Regions from separate parts of the Homo sapiens genome. Here all the other regions are linked to region 1. The links are contacts of gene promoters, found by promoter capture Hi-C in blood cells and fetal thymus (Javierre and others, 2016). All regions are on one chromosome and are shown on one strand. The core of a region is centred on a gene start or on the middle of the fragment in contact, and the rest is flanking DNA. Distances in the headings are between cores, read along the strand shown. Region 1 holds the start of AASDH (aminoadipate-semialdehyde dehydrogenase). Region 2 overlaps REST (RE1 silencing transcription factor). Region 3 has its middle 5.1 kb from the start of EXOC1. Region 4 overlaps EXOC1 (exocyst complex component 1).

Region 1 (2,878 bases), core at 184-2,683:
AAATCAACAGAAGAAAAAAAAAGGAAACTTGAGGGAAATAGATACTGCAAGGGAAGAAAAACTTTAAAAAAGGTATCATTAATATCAGAGAGTTGGATGATGATACTGGAATAATAAAACATCATTTTGGCAGCAATTCAGAGTCAATCAGAGGCAAACAAAACTGAAAACGTTTTAGGAAAAAGCTGACCAAGAAGACCTGAACTAAAGTAGCAGTAATGGCGATGAACATGACACTTAAAAAACGCAGGTTCTAGGCCCCTCACTAGAAAACTAGGGGATGAACCTCCGGGGATGGAGTCCAGGAATTTGGAATCTTCTAAAACATCACCACCGGCAATTCTGATGTAGCCAGCTGGGTGCTGGTCTCAAGACTGAGAACTAGAGGACATAGGGTCTAATCGGATGTAAGAGGTTAAGAAAGTGGGAAGGTTGATAACTGTCTGGCTGGGTGGATGATGGTGTCATCCCAACGTAGAAACATAGAAACATAGACAAGATACACTTTTGCCCACTTCCAACCTAAATACATAAATAAGGCTGTGTTAGTTTGAGTAGTCCATGGTACATCTTGGAAAAGTATAGTTGGCATGTGGAGATATTTTTTGCTTAGATTAGAAGCACAGTTTCTTGTCACCAACAACTACGGCTGCGAGAGCGTCCTATGCTTTTTTCTCACGTACTGTTTTGATGCAGAGCTGTCTTCGCAGTCCCTCCCCCGGCTAAAACCCCCCAAACAAAAAAATCCCGATTATTCTGCCACCAGACAGTAGCTTTAAAACACCTCTGTTATTGCCCTTGACGCTTATTGTAATAATTGACATGTCTCCAACTGTAACAATTCCCTTGGAAACAGAAAGTTCTATTCAGGCATATAGTTTACAAAACTCCACCTCGGACCTGCTTTAATTTCTTTACAGGTCCTACTAAATGCTCCTGTCAAATTCCTTAGTTATCGTTTCAATCTGCTTCCCAATTAAAATGTCAGCATCATGATGACAGGAACGTCGTTTGCAGGCGTCACTGCTGCAGCCATATCTCCAGCACGTTTCCAGAAAATGTCATTGGTTGAAAGCAATAACTCTCCTATTTCACAATGATTTCATCTCTCTTCACATCAACCCTAGGTGATGTTTTTATTCTCACCTTATGAACGAGAATACTGCGGCTCAAAATTCAAGAGTCTTGCCCAGAGTTTTTTGGCAAGTACGAAAGGGTTATGGCTCCAAACTGGTTAGCTCCGAAGTCCTTGCAAACCCTGTCCGAGACCATGCGCGACCCCAAGGAGCGCCTGAGCAGATAACCAAAAGTGAAAAAGCCTATAGACCTCTTCACTCAAGTTAGCGCCTCGGCTTCAGGAGAGGCAGCGCCAGCTCCACGCAGCCGGCCCGGGGTCGCTCGCACTGACGTCACGTAGCGACGCGGAAGATTTACGTATGGTGCCTCGCTCTGGGATAGCTTTACGGCTTCTGGGAGCTGCTGCTTCGCTGTGAGAAGTATCCGCGACGAGCTATCCGGGAAAGGGCCGAATGCGATCAAACCTAATCCGCGAGACTTGCTAAGTGAGTCGCGGCAGGGCGCGGTGTCCGGCGGGGGTCTGTGTGAAGGAGGCGAAGTGCCGCTAGGCCTGAGCCTGCTTCCACATACATTTGCTCAGCTTCAGGACCACTGCCTGACCTCGGATTTGATACATCGGGGTCTGGCGTGCTGGTGTGGTGCAGACTAACCCTGACCTGTGTGTACACTCCTGCGTCACTAGCCTCCGCCCCTCCATTCAAATGGAAATAAGTGTGCTCCGCGCTCAGCTACCCCCTAGAGTGGTTTCGAAGAGCAATGAAGAAATGTTTAGGAAGCTGTAAATTGCATTGTTACTCGTTGCATACCGTAAATTTAGAAGCCGGGGAATTGGGAAAATAAAGTTTCTAGATTATTTATCCATTTTTAAAACAGCCAGTGGCCTAGAGAGAGGCCCCATAGCAATTGAATTTGCTGACACTCTTAAGATCTTTGTTGACTAAATAGCAGCTTCTACAGTTGTAGCAAGTAAATTTATTCCTTTTACATGTAAAATCTGCTTACCAGAGTTTGCTTTTTTTTTTCCTTTTTTTTTTTTTTTTTTTTTTTGAGACGGAGTCTCGCTCTGTCGCCCAGGCCGGACTGCGGACTGCAGTGGCGCAATCTCGGCTCACTGCAAGCTCCGCTTCCCGGGTTGACGCCATTCTCCTGCCTCAGCCTCCCGAGTAGCTGGGACTACAGGCGCCCGCCACCGCGCCCGGCTAATTTTTTGTATTTTTAGTAGAGACGGGGTTTCACCTTGTTAGCCAGGATGGTCTCGATCTCCTGACCTCATGATCCACCCGCCTCGGCCTCCCAAAGTGCTGGGATTACAGGCGTGAGCCACCGCGCCCGGCCTTTTTTTCCTTTTTAAGGTCTCAAACATTTGGGCATTAATAAGTTTAGTATTCTCTACTGCAGAGAATGTTATTTGTGATTCAATGAATGAAAATGAAAACCTGAGACAAGAAGAATGGATTTTACCTTAAATGTCTGTAGCAACCATTGGGAAAATGGAAAGAAACATCTTAATTATCGTATAGATGTGTAGGTACCCTTCTGCGCTACCTGTATGTTGCGAAATGAACTCATTCCTCATAATTTAAGCGCCTGCTGCAGAAAGCCTCCCTTATATTTACATAATGATCATTGTATGTCTGAGGAAAGCTTAAAATTGTATCTTGTGCATTAAAAAGAGCTAATATTTATAGAAATGCCTACTAAAAATAAATAATGTAAGTACTAAAGTTGCCTTATATGTTTAAACTGTATATTTAGAAATCACAGCATTTTCAAACTTATGGGTCTTGGCAGTTATTGGTTC
Region 2 (2,878 bases), core at 179-2,678, 540 kb before region 1:
CATGAAAAAAAAAACTGATGGTTGGTATTTGAGATAAAAATTTGTTCGACATGCAACCTAGTGGTTTATTTATTGCAAAATCAAAACTGATAGCTGTGAATTTACTACATCCATTCGAAATAAATAAGTTATATGAAATACAGATTCTGGCATAGATATAAGATGTAAAAATCAAAATCAATAGATTGAACCTGCATATTTCATTTGCTCACAAACTTGCACACACTATTATTCTGCAAAATAGACAACTGCAGCAAAGAAAAAGAAAACTGCCCTTTTGCAAACAAGTCTAAAAGCATCCCTCCAAAGACGCCAAACAAAATAAACATGCATATATATATGTATAAAGTGTTACTGTTCAACACAAATGCTATTTCTAGGAAAAATTTAACTGCATAGGCAAAAAAACATAAACAGAAACCAAAAGAAAAAAAAAATGTGCAACATCTTAAGCCATTAAAGCACCAAAATAAAAAACACACCAAAATCACTGTTTTTATGACGATTAACATACACAAATAAAAAATATTGATCAAAACTCAGGAAGTAAATACTTGGACTGATAGACTGTCTATTGCTGGGGGAATTTTTCTTCAATTTAAATGTCTTCTCATCTCTAAAAAAAAAAATCTTAAAGTGCTAACTTTATATAAAGCAGGCAAATTCTTCAAGTAATTTGCTATTAAGTAAGCCAATTTTTTATAGATCTCAATAAAAAACGAAGAATAAACTAAAGTGAAACAGGAAGATAAGACATGGAGAAAAAAATGACAAGTTGTAGCTGGACAAAGCAATAAAATGCTGTTATACCATCTTAGCCTTCTAATTTCAATTAAACACATAAGCTAACAGATACCTGCTGGTTTAGTACACTCTCTTAGATTTACTAAAATTTACACAACAATCAACAGGTATACATAAAAAGTCCTAAGGAAAAGAATGCCACTTAAAAATCAACATCAGATACTAATTAAAGCAATCTTAAAAGGTTGTCTGCTATCATAAATGAATATAAAATGTAATATACCTTACAAACTAAGAACTGAAACCTTGTTCAAAGTTTCATTACTCCTGCCCTTGAGCTGCTTCTTCAAGATAGTACACATTAACCAAATGGCGATTGAGGTGTTTGCTGTAATCTTTTCCCTTTCTGAAAGAACGATCACAGAAGATACAAACAAAATCTCCCTTAGCCGCTTTGACTGCCAAGGCTTCCTTTGCATTTTTTCTGCTAGATTCTTGTGGAACTGGCCGAGCCCCATGCAATCCAGAATCATCACTACCCTCTGACATGTTGTCACTTAGGTCACTTCCTTCATGGCTGTGGATGCCTTCATCTTCATCAATTTCCTGAGACTCATTTGCTGCCATTGTAGCAGGAGGTGATGCCAGTGCAGTTTTGGACACTGCTTCACGTTCTTCTACTGCTGAAGGGGGAAGCATTGGTGAAACTGGTTCTTCAACTGTTGAATTTATACCAGTGAGATTCTCTCTTGTGTTCTGATCAGTGTCCATTTTCATTTCACAAACTATACTGTCAGTCTGATGTTTACCATTTAAAGTTTCACCCTCTGGCGTATTCAAGTTTTGTCCAGAGGATGAAATATGGGTAGATTCGTTGATATTAGCAGCAAGACCAGGTAGGCTCTCATCTGCCTCTTCTGCTCCTACTTTCTGAAGAGGGGCTTCTTTATTTCCTTCACCTGTGTTGAGTAATTTTTGGTCTCCTGATGCCTCTTCTCTTAAATTTTCCTTTGGCAGTGGTGGTGATGGTGGTGAGAGATCCTCTGTGCTTACACTTTCCTTTAGAAGCCAGCTATCTTTAACAGGCACTAAGCCAACTTCAATAAGGACTTGCTCCTTCCGTGCCCTTTCACTCTGCATGTTAGACTTTTCCTTTTTATCTTTTCGGAGAGGAGGCTTTTTGGAAATTGGCTCCATGTGAAGGGGAGGCTCTCTGGGAGGAGGTGGCTCCCTCTGAGCAGGCTCCTTCTGAACCACCCCCATGGGAGGAGACAACTCCATCTGAACAGGCTCCTTCTGGACCACCTCTATGGGAGGAGACAGCTCTATCTTAACAGGTTCCTTCTGGACCACCTCCATGGGAGGAGACAGCTCTATCTGAACAGGCTCCTTCTGGACCACCTCCATGGGAGGAGACAGCTCCATCTGAACAGGCTCCTTCTGGACCACCTGCATGGGAGCAGATTCTACCTGGGCAACCTCCATCTGAGCAGGTTCCATGGGAGCAGGCCCCATTTGGGCAACCTCCGTCTGAGCAGTCTCCATGGGAGGAGGCAGCTCCATGTGAGCAAGTACAATTTGGGCACCCACCATCTGAGCAGGCTCCACGGGAGGCAGCAGCTCCTTCTGAGCAGGCCCCTCCTGAACCACCTCCATCTGAACAGGCTCGTCAGGAGCAGGCCGTATCTGGGCACCCTCCATCTGAGCATGCTCCATGGGAGGTGGCGGCTCCACCTGAACGGGCCCCTTCTGAACCGCCTCTGTGGGAGCAGGCCCCATCTGAGGAGGGTCCATCTGAGCAGATCCCTTCTCAACAGGTTCCTTCTGAGGAGGCTTACTGCTTTTCTTACTTGATTTATTTTTCAGAGTTTTCTTCTTTGTACTTTTTTTCATGCAAGTATTTTGCTTTTTATTCTCCTCCACTTTGCTGTCACCCTTTGGCACTTCCTGACTATTATTTTTGGATTTGCTTTCTACCTTCTTTTTCTTTTTTGTTGAAGATTCCTCATCATTCACAGGACCATGTAAAGAATGGCTGTCAACTTCCAGCTTCCTTTTGCTTTTCTTAGTTTTACTGAATTTTTCTGAATTGCTTCCTGTATGCACATCCATCTCTTTCACCTCTGTTACTGAT
Region 3 (2,878 bases), core at 105-2,604, 540 kb after region 1:
CCCTGTAACAAACGCTGAGCAGGGCTTCAGGAGCTGTAAACGTTCACCCCTATACGCTGCCGTGGAGTCCGAGCCCCACAACCTGCCCTTCTGCATGCTCCCCCTAGAGGTTTGAGCAGTGGGGCACTGAAGAAGTGAGTGACACCCCCATCGCATGCCCTGCGATGGGGATAAGGGAATTTTCCTGTTTCGGAATCACACAGACCAGGGGTTCAAATCTGGTCTTTACCCTTTACTGAGTCAGTGACCACAGGGCAAGTTACTTAACTCTTCAGAGCCTCAATTTTCTCATCTGTATATAAAAAATAGTAATCCCATCTTGGGCATATTTGCTAAGATGTTTCTTGTAAAGCACTTGTCTCATTGCTTGGCACACAGTATAAGCATTCAATAAATGGTAGCTGTTATTACATGCAGATTGGTTTAGTAGATTAAATTGGGCAGATTTACCTACTTGAAAAACATGTAATAGTCACCCAAGGAGGTTCTGCCCAAGGAGGTTCTGAGGTCCCGCTTCCTTTACATAGAAAGAAGGCTGTATATATTAACATGTATCACATATGAGGGAATCTCATACTTACATAGCATGAAATAACTTTTCCATTGTTAGTAAGCTCCAAGGGAAAAGTCTCTTCTAAATGGTGAAGAGTAGTAAATATTGATGATTTATAGAAGTTAATTGTTTCCTCAGAGAAATCGCTCTTGTTACTGTGCACCAGTAAAGCAGAGGCCTGAAGATTGTAAAGACTTCATGTTCTTCTCAAGACCTGAATCCATTTTGCACCTTTTGAAGGGGGAGGGAGACCATCCTTTTCCTCAGCTTGAACCCCTGAAGGAGGAAGGGCAAAAGTGCCCCACTCCCTCTAGGGCTGTCTCTGATGACATCGGTGGTAGCTCCACTGGCTTTGAGGACATTGTTTAGTGAGAAAACTCATAGATTTCATGGAAGTGGACTTTCATATTTCATATTTGGATGCCTCTTTTACTGGCATCCAAACTGTCTTTTGATATCAGTCTGATTAATTTTAATTTGGGTATAAAGCTAAGGGATCTTCAAATGTTTAAAATGTTCAAATGTTTAAAATCATGTAGATTTATATAATTTCAATTTGAAATGTGACATTTTAAACATTTGACATTTATTATGACACTTACTTTGATTTTTCTCTTCCCTATTTCTTAGCATTGTTTTCTTATAATTTAATGATGCATGTTCCTGTCTAAGAAAGGAAGAACTTTTTTTCAGAGATGTAAGACTATTAGTATCAACACAAAGAACACCAAGTAACTCTTTGTGGGGGTGGGGGGTGGACAATGAGAGTTACAATGCTGCACTTCCCAGATTCTTTATTTTCTTTTTCGTTCTGTTTTTTCTGGAGACAGTCTTGCTCTGTCACCCAGGCTGGAGTGCAATGGCGTTAGCTCACTGCAACCTCTGCCTCCCAGGTTCAAGCGATTCTTCTGCCTCAACCTCCTAAGTAGCTGGGACTACAAGCACATGCCACCATGCCTGGGTGATCTTTTGTATTTTTAGTAGAGATGGGGTTTAGTAGAGATGGGGTTTTGCCATGTTGCCCAGGCTGGTCTCAAACTCCTGGGCTCAAGTGATCTGCCCACCTAGGCCCAGATTCTTTATTTTCTAAATATCTTTAACAACTGCAGCAAGGAAGAAATGTCTCTACTGTTAAATACATAAAGCAATTGGTGTTTGTTTTAGGTTTTGTTAGAAATAGATGTAAATATCCCCACGTGATACTTTCCATTTCTTTGTAGCTTTATGGGAGGAAGTCAGGGAGTCACTAAATAAGGATGGTAATTACCTGTATCAATATTAATTAAGTAAATATTATAAATAAATATTAGTTAGATAGTAGATGCACATTTGACATCATTATTGGAAAGTAATATAATGTGACATACAAATAAATATAAGGAAGGCAAAGATTGGCTTGCAGAATCACATTGCGTCTCAATGCTTTTCTTATGCAGCTGCCTTATTTAATATACATATTGTAGAGTGATATTACAATAAAGGGCAGTCATTACAAATGCACAGTGCTGAACTCCGTATACACATTCTAGGAGATTCTCTCAGAAGTGCAGAAATCATCTCTTTTTTTTTAATTTTTTTATTTTTTATTATTATTATACTTTAAGTTTTAGGGTACATGTGCACATTGTGCAGGTTAGTTACATATGTATACATGTGCCATGCTGGTGTGCTGCACCCACTAACTAGTCATTTAACTTTAGGTATATCTCCTAATGCTCTCCCTCCCCCCTCCCCCCACCCCACAACAGTCCCCAGAGTGTGATGTTCCCCTTCCTGTGTCCATGTGTTCTCATTGTTCAATTCCCATCTATGAGTGAGAACATGCGGTGTTTGGTTTTTTGTCCTTGAGATAGTTTACTCAGAATGATGATTTCCAATTTCATCCATGTCCCTACAAAGGACATGAACTCATCATTTTGTATGGCTGCATAGTATTCCATGGTGTATATGTGCCACATTTTCTTAATCCAGTCTATCATTGTTGGACATTTGGGTTGGTTCCAAGTCTTTGCTATTGGGAATAGTGCCGCAATAAACATACGTGTGCATGTGTCTTTATAGCAGCATGATTTATAGTCCTTTGGGTATATACCCAGTAATGGGATGGCTGGGTCAAATGGTATTTCTAGTTCTAGATCCCTGAGGAATCGCCACACTGACTTCCACAATGGTTGAACTAGTTTACAGTCCCACCAACAGTGTAAAAGTGTTCCTATTTCTCCACATCCTCTCCAGCACCTGTTGTTTCCTGACTTTTTAATGATTGCCATTCTAACTGGTGTGAGATGGTATCTCATTGTGGTTTTGATTTGCATTTCTCTGATG
Region 4 (2,878 bases), core at 213-2,712, 520 kb after region 1:
CGAGATTGCATATTCACAGCCTTCCATCATTATTTCGATATCCTGTTCTTCTCTTGCATTTAACTCTTGGTATTCATCTACTACTTCTTCATCACCTCCTGTCACACTCTGATTTTCTCCACTTGGAACAGATTCTTAAAGAGGTAAAAATTCAAAGTAAAATAGTCAAAAAAGTAGAAAAGACTATAACATAATACATATAGGTAGGTATAGTTATAAGCACAGGTCACATTTAGCAGCTGAAAAAGAGGATAGAATGATTCAAATGATATGAAAAAATCAAACTTTATTTTTATAAATAATTTAATATGTTAATGAAATAAAGTTCTAAAAAATAAATAAAAAGCATGCAGTCTAATGCACTAACTTACAAATGTTAAAACAGGCTTTCACCACAGTTTCCCAAAATACAATTAAGCTAAAATGTAAAAACAAAATACAAAAACAGGTGGGAACAAACCTAAACATTTTTTCGTACCTGATGTGGCTGTTGCTCTAACAAAACAATGACTATGAATTCAGTACACACAAAAACAATTTGCTTTCCTTTTTTTCCCAGGTGAAATTTTTCTTTTGTTACTTTTGTTACTTTCATCTTCAGTATGTATATTTTTGCCAAATACTTTTTAATTAAAATGAAAAATGCATCTATAATCCATAATTTATTTTGGTCACTAGAATATTAACTGAATTATCCATTTCTTTGCTTAAAAAAATTTCACATGCATTGATAACATTTCTAAAGATAAGTTACAGCTTTCTCAATAACTCTAAGTAAGAGCAACAACAACATGGCTGTTTGAAATTATAAAAAGTTAAACAGGCTTCATGCTTTATAACAAAAGACCAAGAGGTCAAACCTGAAATGCTTTCTAGATGTTTCAGTTCATTTTTTTTTTTTTTTTGAGGAAATACACTAGCATGTGAGCACTGTATATAAAGCTTGAGGTTAGGAGGTAAAATGAAAGAAATCATTTTTAACTCCTAAGATGTTGTTTTATCACTCTAAATAAAGTTAGCAATTTCACAGACTTAATGGGGCATGATTTAAACCACAAACTCTGGATGCTTTTAGTATTCATTATTTTATAGGAAAATGAATATTTACATTCAGCATGACCTGAAATACGTTCATTTGTCCCAGAACAAAAAGAAGACTAAAACTTTTGGTACAGGCAATTACAGATTTTAGTATATAAGTTCTTTAGAGAGATATTACCGATCTCCTTGTCCTTTCAACGAGTCCATTTAATTCACTGCGAAAAAGTTCAACTGTCATGTGTGACAGCTTATTAGCCACTAGGGGGCAGGGACTGCCCAAATCATTCTGTACAGGTCCTTACACAAGTAGACTTAAACAAATATTTTACATGATTATAATTAACTGCTTCAGAAGTATTTTCTAATGATATGTCCTTGAAAGCCAATAATAAATACTATCATTAATTTTATTACTATGTAGATTTTTAAAATAAATTTGTCCCAGTACATCATTTCATAAAACATACAACCAACGGTATATAACAAAGGCAACTAATAAAAACATATGGAATAGAAGAAGAAAAGGTGTTACGCACCTTCTGTAACTTTAGGCAGTTCTGGAGAGTAAAAAGTATGAAAAAAGCAGAGGAAAGTAAGCAAAGAATATTAGCTGGGTAGAAAAGTAAACAGGCTTAAATTTTTAAAATACTACCCATATCTCATTTGAACTTCATGTTAAAGTTCAAAAGACAGCCAAATCAACTACCAAGTGGAAAGATCCATAAGAAGCTAAATTTGCCGTGTTCATTTTTCTTATTCACTTTCTGATAGTGACTACAAATATATTTATCTTTCTAATTTCTCTTAGTCTTTTAAGAAACAGCACTAACTAACCCTTAGAGGAGAAACCTGGCAAACTAATCATTTCCTGGGGATTATATTTAGGTCAGTTGTGACTCATGCATGTAGCCTAGTTATGTTACTTAAGGCCCAAAAGCTTTACCCAGACACTCCCTCACAGAGGATTAGTCACAAAACATGGTTAGAAAGGACAAGATTGAGGCAAGTAAAAAATTACACAAAATAACAGTTCAAGCCAGCATTTAAGGATTCAAGTCAAAGATTCTTTTTTAAAAAGCTGGTTGCAAGTAAAAGAATGAAAAAAAAGGCCAAATAAAAACTTCAATCTACTTCAACTGCTGAAAAGTCCTCTTTTACAAACCTTATTCTGCTGAGGAGCCCCATTATTTAACTTACGTATTCAATTGTCAACAATAAAAACTACCAAGTTGCCACTGCTACCATTTATAATCAAAATAGTCTTACTTAATTATTGAGCTCTTAAACTGGGGTGGTAATAATTTTTTATTTGTTTTCTAACATCACTCAAAACTTAGAGACATTTTTTTTTAATGGGAATTAAAGGCTGTAATTTCAAGGTCCATAAAACAAGTTTGTAGACATTAATGAAGCTATTCCCTGAACTCCACTAAACCAAAGCAAGAGTTACTGACGTATATAGCAAGTGATTTTCAAAATGAGATCCTTAAGGATCTTCTCAGTATTCTTAAAATCGATCTCAGTTAGGGTTAATGTTTATACACATGAACGTGTCTATACTCTTGTTTTATGGCCTGAAAAATTGAATGCCTTTTTTTTTTTAAGTTAGACACTTCATTTTCAAAAACAGTAATACTCTTCTCACTGATTTTGGTAGTATTTCTTAATGAGGCAGATCCAGGTAGGGTATGTATTTTTCTATATGACTGTCCTGAAATATACTGGTTTAAAATCACCTTACACAATAAATAACATCTGGAAATGCATAATATTTGAAGACAGAACAGCAAGCTTGTGAATCACTGAATCACTGACTCATCAGAATGTTCAACCCTGA

The links. Contacts are between HindIII fragments. The CHiCAGO score rates a contact against its expected background, and 5 or more counts as called.
Region 2: a fragment that was not itself captured here is called in contact with the fragment with the promoter of AASDH in region 1 in 8 of 17 cell types (naive CD8 T cells, total CD8 T cells, non-activated CD4 T cells and 5 more); the score reaches 8.7 in naive CD8 T cells.
Region 3: a fragment that was not itself captured here is called in contact with the fragment with the promoter of AASDH in region 1 in 3 of 17 cell types (fetal thymus, non-activated CD4 T cells and total CD8 T cells); the score reaches 7.5 in fetal thymus.
Region 4: a contact is called between a fragment that was not itself captured here and the fragment with the promoter of AASDH in region 1, in 9 of 17 cell types (megakaryocytes, activated CD4 T cells, total CD8 T cells and 6 more). The highest score is 7.2, in megakaryocytes.

The regions. Positions count from the first base shown.
Region 1 is chr4:56,386,046-56,388,923 of GRCh38, reverse strand. AASDH (aminoadipate-semialdehyde dehydrogenase) reads left to right here and starts at 1,433. Exons shown (of 15, transcript NM_181806.4): 1 at 1,433-1,562. RefSeq lists enhancers at 1,089-1,138, 1,001-1,507, 1,169-1,538, 1,508-2,015. The HindIII fragment of the contact is 3,410 bases long and covers 1-2,723 here.
Region 2 is chr4:56,930,340-56,933,217 of GRCh38, reverse strand. It overlaps REST (RE1 silencing transcription factor), which reads right to left. Exons shown (of 4, transcript NM_005612.5): 4 at 1-2,878. The coding sequence ends at 1,066. Among named protein-coding and RNA genes, the nearest start is that of REST, 24 kb to the right of the region's middle. The HindIII fragment of the contact is 4,321 bases long and covers 1-2,878 here.
Region 3 is chr4:55,847,149-55,850,026 of GRCh38, reverse strand. No RefSeq gene overlaps it. Among named protein-coding and RNA genes, the nearest start is that of EXOC1, 5.1 kb to the left of the region's middle. The HindIII fragment of the contact is 6,305 bases long and covers 1-2,878 here.
Region 4 is chr4:55,865,592-55,868,469 of GRCh38, reverse strand. It overlaps EXOC1 (exocyst complex component 1), which reads right to left. Exons shown (of 19, transcript NM_001024924.2): 5 at 1-134. Among named protein-coding and RNA genes, the nearest start is that of EXOC1, 13 kb to the right of the region's middle. The HindIII fragment of the contact is 1,036 bases long and covers 945-1,980 here.